Regions from separate parts of the Homo sapiens genome. Here all the other regions are linked to region 3. Evidence: promoter capture Hi-C in 16 types of primary human blood cells and fetal thymus (Javierre and others, 2016). All regions are on one chromosome and are shown on one strand. The core of a region is centred on a gene start or on the middle of the fragment in contact, and the rest is flanking DNA. Distances in the headings are between cores, read along the strand shown.

Region 1 (2,700 bases), core at 196-2,695, 230 kb before region 3:
ATAATTTGAAATGGATTCACTGGTTTGGTTCCCTTCTGGCTTGTGCCGTAAGCAGGACAGTGACATGGACCCAACGAATGGGGAGCACTACCATGCCCAGAAATCCAGGTACTGGCACACTCAGCCAAGCAGCACCTTCTACTGCTAGAAATGGGGGAGACGCAAAGGTAAGTTCACAATTGAGAATCACTAACATTTGAGAAAACCAACACTACATGAAAGAGGCATAAAACTCAACAAACAAGAATGAACACTGGAGCAAAGAGGAATACTTTTAAGAGTATCACAGTCAATATCTTCAGAGTGATAAGAGAGAGTATTGCTATCCTAAAACTAGAATGGGCTGTTATGAAAAATAACCAACAGAAAGGCAGAACAACTGCATGGACAGCGCTGAAGAATACATCTGTGAGCTGAAAATTCAGCTGTGAAATCCTCCTAGAAACCAGTGTAATAAAACAATGAAGTGAACAGTATGAAAACAACATTTAGAGTTCTGAAGGATATATCCATTACTCAATAACTCCAATATCCATCTAAGAGAGTTTCTAGAAGGAAAAAAGTTCAACACACAAAGTGGTTGTAGAAGAAGAATTTCAAGAAATGAACAAAGAAACAGTTGTTCAGGTTGAAAAGGCTCTCAGATAGTTAAGCAGGATGAATGGGAGAAAAAAATATAATAGAAAACCAAAGATAAAAAGAAAATCGTACAAGCTTCCAGAGAGGGGGAAGAAAAGGATTACCTATAAAGGAATGAGAATCAGACTGACGTGAGACATTAACAAATCAACAACTCCAGATGCAAGAAAGAAAATGAAGCAGTCACTTAAATTTTTCCAGGGAAAACAAGCTGAAATTAAGAAATTTCCCCCAGCCAAACTATGATTCCAGCATGAAGGCAAATAACAAGTTTCACAAGAATACAGACTCAAAAGGTTTGCCATTCAAAAATCATAAAGTCACTAGTGAGTAAACTTTAGAATTCACATGAAAGACTTGAAATAAAAGTAACTGCAGGCCAGGTGCAGTGGGTGGTTCACACCTGTAATCCCAGCACTTTGGGAAGCTGAGGCAGAGGACTGCTTGAGGCTAGGAGTTTGAGACCAGCCTGGGCAACACAGTGAGACCCTGTGTCTACAAAAAAATGTAAACTATAATGGGTGTAGTGGTGTGTACCTGTAGTCCTAGCTACTCAGGAGGCTGAGGTGGAGGATCACTTGGGTCCACCCAGGAGGTTTAAAGTTGCAGTGAGCTATGATGGCATCACTGCACTCCAATCTAGGCAAAAGAGTGAAACCCTGTCTCTTAAAAAAAAAAAAAAAATGAAAAAAGGAACTGCAAGAAGAATATGATATATATTCTGCAAATCATGTTTGAGCTTACATCTATCACTTTATTTTCATTTCAGTGTATTATTTTATGAAATAAAACTAGATTAAACACAGAAATGAGGAAAAAATAATTCATGTAAGCTGAATTACAAAATAAAATAGCAGGCATAAGTTTAAACATACAAGTAATCATAATAAATGTGTACGAACTAAATTTGCTTTTTAAAAGCAGAGAGTTTCAAATTTGTTTAAAACATTTAACTGTGTGCATTTATATGAGACATACCTAAAATAAGTCAGCCCATGAAGGCTTAAAGTAAAGGGATGGAAAAAGAGCTACCAGAGCTACCAGACATATTCTAACAACAAAAAGCAGGTGTGGCAAGATTAATCAGACAAAAGAAATCAAAGCAAGTCATGAATCTTTCTGTACCTAACAACATAACTTTAAAAAATAGAAAGTAAAAATTGACAGACATATGAAGAGAAATTGTCAATGATTAATCACAGTGCCAGTGACAGACTTTGGCATATTTCTTTCAGAAAGCAATAGATCAAATAAACAAATAGGATATACATTATTTTCAAACACTTTTGGAACATTTACCAAGAATGATCAGATATTAAGGCCACAAAGAAAATTTCAACAAAATCCATCAAGTAGAGTACACATAGGCCACATTCACCAACTACAATGCAATATAATTAGAAATTAACAGCAGAAAAAAAAAATCTACACATCTGGAAATTAAAAGATACTTTTCTAAGATATTTTTTGGGTTAAAGAACTCAAAATGGGAATCTCAAGCTATTTAGAAATGAACAATGACAAGATATGTCAGTTATGAAGCTTTTGTCTATTGGCCCCAAACCCCATCCTCTGCTTTGTGATGCTGGGGATAAAACTCTGTAAAACTTTCTGCTGGGCAGCAGCTCCCTGCTCAGCTCTGCCAGCAGGGGGCACGAGAGGGAGGCTGCAGGGATGGAGAAGGAAGACACTTGCTTCTTCCTATTTGCTTTCATCACCCCAGCAACGGTCCCTCACCCTGGCAGTAACAGTTGGTTCTAGCATCTTTTTTTCCCCCTCAGAGCCCACCTCCCTGTGCAGCTTCAGAGCAGAAGCACCAAATGGATAGCATCTTTTCCTCAAAATCTGAGCCCCAGCCCTGCAGGGCCTCTCCTCCATCATCTGCTGGGTAGTATGCCTTCCTTACAGTTGGAGTCCCATTTCTACCAGGGTTTGTCTCTCCTGCTTCTTGGTTCTGATACCCTAACCTCTCTTTGTTCTCCTAGACCCAGTGGGTACAAGCTGCTTCCTACAGTTATCACATTACCTCAGGTTCCTGTGTGCTGTCAGCCCTGTGTGTAG
Region 2 (2,700 bases), core at 107-2,606, 250 kb before region 3:
GTGGATGCCTGGATTCCTCGTTGGGTTCTGCACCCCCAAAACCCTGCATAAATGTTCCTCTTTCTCCCTTGGCTTTCTGGGGGCTCACTTTAAAAGATGTGTATCCCATAGGTCCCCTTTAGCTGGGTTGTACCAGGCACAGTGTTTGTTCTTTCAACCAGTATTTACTGAGCACCTCCTGTGTGCCGGGCAGTTTAGAAAATAAAGTGTAAGTTACTTCATTCCTGCCTAGGAGAAGCTCAAAATTCAAGTGCATTCACAGGCTTTAATCAGTGGTTGGCAACTGTTTTTCTATCCTAGCCCAGCAGAGAGATGGACACACTCCTGTCAGTAACAGAGGCTTGCTGGGGAAGCCTGTGGTTTGATCCCTCTATATCCTCACCCCATCAGGATCCAGCCTAGGGCATTTTGACACATTATCTACCCCTGGTTGGGCGTCACTGTGTGAGCTTGGGAAGAAAATATCCATAGTCACTTTCTGTGTTTCTTATAAGGGTTAGGGCAAAGAGAGAAACGAGGATCAGGAAAGTTACATCGAGGCTGACGGAATCCTGGACATGGGCTGGCATCACGGGCCATCTTCTACTTGAGATATTTTTCAGATAACACAAGTATGGAAAAAGGAAAAAGCAACTGTATTGAAATCTCCTAAATGCAGCAGATTTGGAGCCTGCAAACACTTCTTTTAGGGAGGAGGCAGTATTGCTCTTAACCTAGAAGGCATCCTCAATGGTCTTTGAGACGTTTGGAAACGTGTGCACAAGTGAAATTATTTTACCTACTTCTCTTGAACGCATGATGTCTCATATCCAATTTTATTTCTAAACATTTCTTTTAAAAAATAGTTATTTCTGTGCACTTCTGATTCTGTTACTAGTAAGAACAGTAAAACCTGATTGGCTATATATTGCCTCACTAACTGCTCTTTCATTCTGGGTCACTACGAAAGATGTTAAATGAGATAGCCCAAATGTCTTTGAGTTTGTGTATACACATTAAAACACATAAAAAGTCATACTCATGATTTTAAAACTTGACTCTCGAATGTGTTAGAAGCTTCTCTGTGGTATTAAAGTGCTGAAGCATCATTGCTCTGATGTCACTGATTTCAGTTTACTCCTACAGTTTACTTTTTGTCTGTTAGTGGTATCATCTGGCATTCTGTGGAGACCTAGGTTGAATCTGCATGTTTGAAATGACAAAGTAAACCCTTGAAGGAACAGGTCTGAGGACACACTTCATTAGCTTCATTTTCTGTGGATAAACAATGGCAACACTTAGATACCTGAGGATAAATAAGGGACAACGGGCCATGGAATCAGAGAGTTTACTTTTTTTTTTTTTTTTTTTTTTTGAGACAGAGTCTCATTCTGTCACCCAGGCTGCAGTGCAGTGGCACGATCTCGGCTCCACCTCCTGGGTTCAAGCAATTCTTCTGCCTCAACCTCCGAGTAGTTGGGATTACAGGCATACTCCACCACACCTGGCTAATTTTTGTATTTTTAGTAGAGACAGGGTTTCACCATGTTGGCCAGGCTGGTCTCAAATTCCTGACCTCAAGTGATCCGCCTGCCTCGGCCTCTTAACGTGTAGGGATTACAGGCGAGAGCCACCGAGCCTGGCATTTTTTTTTTTAAAACATCTTCTTTGCATTTCAGAAGCTTCCAGGTTTGACACTGCCAAGGCCTTTTCTTCCTTTCCCTGGTTTGACTTTCAGGTCCCAGAGCCTGCAGGGGCAGGTTCTCCAGTAAATCCCAGGTCTCACTGGCCTGTGTCTTTACAGGGGCAGGTTCTCCAGTAAATCCCAGGTCTCACTGGCCTGTGTCTTTACAGGGGCAGGTTCTCCAGTAAATCCCAGGTCTCACTGGCCTGTGTCTTTACAGGGGCAGGTTCTCCAGTAAATCCCAGGTCTCACTGGCCTGTGTCTTTAAACGCTTGATTCTTAGTCAAGAGCTAAAGGATAGTATTTATCAGAAAAACTGCTCAGACCCTAGAGCCCATACTTTTCCGGAAAGGTCCTGAAATATAGTGTGGTAGCTAACACTACAAAAGTCAAATCTCAGAATTCCTACCCAGGGTAGAGAGGATACAGAAAAGGACTGAGGGATAAACAATCTGGCAGAAATGCTTTAGGGGATCCTAGCGAGGGAAAGGAGAGAGGTGGCCAAAGGGCCTTTCTTGTGCTTTTCCTATGTCTGGCCCATTCCCTGCCTCTTCTCCCTGTTACCTCCGCTCTCCCCTCAGCGAAGATCCCTGACTAGACCAGTTTCTCTTTAGTCCCTCGCTCATAGGCCTCTATTTCTCAGGACTTGGAGTCTTGCATTTGTGGTTCCTAGATTAACACGTGTCCTCACTAGACTCTCAGCTCCAAAAGGTAATGTCCTTTTGGCTCACCGTTGTGTCTCTGGCATCTACGTACCTGTGTATTTTATTGAAAGACACATGTCACCCAGTTTATTATTACTCTTGTAGAACTGCAGGGAAAGGGCAGGACAAAGAATATGAGAAAAAAGAAAGTGGAGAAAGGATATAGGGCTTTGGATTAGAATGCTACCTCCTACCCAGACACATTCATGAGAAAACTCATATCCTTAGACAAACTCCTAATTCTGTATCTGTCCTACCTCATGGGTAGGAGGTAGGACAGATACTTCTATTTGGGTAGTTTTTTTTTTTTTTTAAACTTAATGTCACCTCTAC
Region 3 (2,700 bases), core at 1-2,500:
GGAATTTTAGATGCTGTTTTGTGGTGAACATCCCAAGAAAGGAGTTATGTTGACTGATGTGTAATGGAGGGGATTTTTAACAGGGCAATGGAGACTCAAGTGAGGTGGCACTGGCTCAGGTTGACTTTGAACAAAAGTGCACCTGGCATTACCACACTCTTTCCTAGGGTCACAGAAACACTGGAAGCCAAAAGTGATAGAATTGGGGCCATGGCAGGAAAGGACTGTGTTCTTCCAAGGCCAGAAAGGAGATTAGGGTGAAAAGTAAGAGACGTTGAGTCAGGAGACTCTTTGCAGGGCTGGGAAGAGGGGCTCATGGATGAGCTTATCTGGAAGGTTCTGTCTCATTCTTTGTGCTTTTCTTCCTTATAGATGGGTAAACCTGAAGCTGTTAGTGCTTCAAGTCTGTCTCCTAAAACTCACTTCACTCTAGTAGTTAACTTATACCTCAGTAAATTTTTAGGCTTGGCTACAGCAGATAGGATGGGGTGTATAAACAAGATATAAAAATAACTATTACCACTGATCAGGAACCTAGGGCAGAGGGTGGGGGATAAGCTGGCATCTGGGGCTCAGATTTGGGAGAAATCGCTGCCCACCTCTTTACTTCCTTAGGCAGTTCTGGAGTCCACTGCATTTTGAGGGTACCTGAAACTAGGATTGCCTCAGTTAAAAGACCAGTCTGCATAGTCCCTGTGGCTCCCCATGTGGATGGAGCTGAAAGAGTGTTAGGTAGGGGAGCTCTACTGCCTGGCTTTCCATTCAGGTGTGGCCTTAGGTGGGGTAGTTGAGAAATGCCACAGGGACCTTGCCTGAGACGTGTGGCTAATTTTGCTCTTACAGGATGCCTTTAGCCTGACTGCAGAGGGCAAGGCTCCCAGTCCCAGGAGATGGAGTCCCTGACATGAGAGTGCCTGGCATTTCCAGTTCTAGCTCTAGAATGACATGACAGGAGAGCTGAACTCTGGGAAATTCCCTTAGTTTCCCCTTTATGAGAAACCTAGGATCTGTCATCAACCTCATTTCCTTGTGGTTGATTTTGTGCGGATTGGCTCAACACTTATTTCTCAGCGAGCCCGGACAGGTGATACTTGTGCTAATTCTGTGATTTCTTCCTCCGAGCCTCACAGGATCTTCTGGTAGGAGGAGCTGGTTTTCTTTCATGTCATACGTTTCTCATGCCCCACCCAGGAAGCTGGAGCCTCCTTCTCTGCTCATCCAGATAAATGATCCAGGCTCCATTAGAACCCATCACTGACCTTGGAAGCTGCTGGAGCCACGATTCAGTCCCCTGGACTGTAGATAAAGACCCTTTCTTGCCAGGTATAGTCAATAGCTGGAAAACCTCTTCTCCCTCCCTCTGGAGCCTTTCCTCTCATCTGTGCTTTGGGCTTAATGAAGGGAAGGGCCACATCAGGCTGGCTCTGTGCTTTGTCCTATGTGTGGCTGCTTCTTACTGGGGAGTTGCTGGGATCCTGGCAGAGTGGCCCTGGCATGGGACCCTCCCCTGCTCCTAGGCAAAAACAATGCCGATGAAGGGGTGGAGGCTTCAGAGAAGAGGAGTCAGGGCATCAGGTGCCTGTGGGTTATTTAAGGTCAAATTTTATGCCTGGCCTTCGAACTCCTAGGGGAGACACTACCATACTATCTGGATCTCCAGGTGGAGGAAAATTCTACCTGTTCTCCCTTTGCTGATGCTTCCTTCAAGTTTCGTCCCAGATGTGGCTCAGAACTTCTGCCCAGAGCTTCGTGTCAGGCCAGGTTTCCCAGCTCCCTGTCTAGAATGAGGGCCTGTGGAGCTAGTGTCCTGGAAGGTCTTGGAAACATCTCTTGTGGTTCATCTGTTCTATGTCTGCTTTCACAGGTGCTGAGACAACCACACTATGAGAGGCACTCCAGGAGACGCTGATGGTGGAGGAAGGGCCGTCTATCAATCAAGTGAATCAAATGCTGTTGGGATGGGGCTCTGGAGGCTTAGGCCCTCTGCACTCACGCTATCTCCTGTGGAAGCCCCAGCCTTCTCTGCTCCTCTCTGTACACTGCCCTTCCCACCTGGTGCTGCCCACCTACCACTGGGCCCTGGGCTTCTGGAGGGTGGGAGCTATTGCTTAGTCACTGATCCAGCTCCAGTCCCCAGCACCGGGGCCAAGCACAGAGTAGGCACAAAAGAGGGTAGCTGGGCCTTGGCACACAGGTTCTGTGAGACTGCTCATTGCCCTCTGTCTTGATAGTTTGCCCTCTTAAACCAGTGACTTCCCTTGGTAGCCCTTGCCTTCCTCACCAGAGCTCACAACTTCACTAGAAAGAAAGGCTAGGCTGATGGGTGATGTGAGTGCTGTCAGTTTGGGGATGCAAACCCCACACCTTCCTTACAAAATGGCCTGGGTTAGATACTTTTCTCCTGGGTCTAGTAAAGCAGCCTTGATTATAATATTTCTTCATTTTTTTCTCTATCCCAAAATCAGTGTGTAAACCTATTACTGGGACTATTAATGATTTGAATCAGCAAGTGTGGACCCTTCAGGGTCAGAACCTTGTGGCAGTTCCACGAAGTGACAGTGTGACCCCAGGTGAGTGGTCACCCTGTGCCTTCCCCACTGTTTGCACTGCTGTGGCTGGGAAGCTGGCATCAGCCTTTTGTAAAAGTGTGACTTTACAATGGGGCCCACCAGGAGTGGGGAGAATTTCACACCTAATTGG

What was found. Contacts are between HindIII fragments. The CHiCAGO score rates a contact against its expected background, and 5 or more counts as called.
Region 1: a contact is called between a fragment that was not itself captured here and the fragment with the promoter of IL36G in region 3, in 2 of 17 cell types (M0 macrophages and M2 macrophages). The highest score is 6.0, in M0 macrophages.
Region 2: a fragment that was not itself captured here is called in contact with the fragment with the promoter of IL36G in region 3 in 2 of 17 cell types (M1 macrophages and M0 macrophages); the score reaches 5.3 in M1 macrophages.

Annotation. Positions count from the first base shown.
Region 1 is chr2:112,747,560-112,750,259 of GRCh38, forward strand. All of the region lies in intron 5 of CKAP2L (cytoskeleton associated protein 2 like), which reads right to left. Among named protein-coding and RNA genes, the nearest start is that of CKAP2L, 16 kb to the right of the region's middle. RefSeq lists an enhancer at 2,446-2,495. The HindIII fragment of the contact is 1,467 bases long and covers 713-2,179 here.
Region 2 is chr2:112,730,587-112,733,286 of GRCh38, forward strand. All of the region lies in intron 16 of NT5DC4 (5'-nucleotidase domain containing 4), which reads left to right. Among named protein-coding and RNA genes, the nearest start is that of NT5DC4, 11 kb to the left of the region's middle. The HindIII fragment of the contact is 605 bases long and covers 1,055-1,659 here.
Region 3 is chr2:112,976,756-112,979,455 of GRCh38, forward strand. It overlaps IL36G (interleukin 36 gamma), which reads left to right and starts at 1,251. Exons shown (of 5, transcript NM_019618.4): 1 at 1,251-1,323; 2 at 1,865-1,938; 3 at 2,466-2,570. The coding sequence starts at 1,884. The HindIII fragment of the contact is 15,608 bases long and covers 1-2,700 here.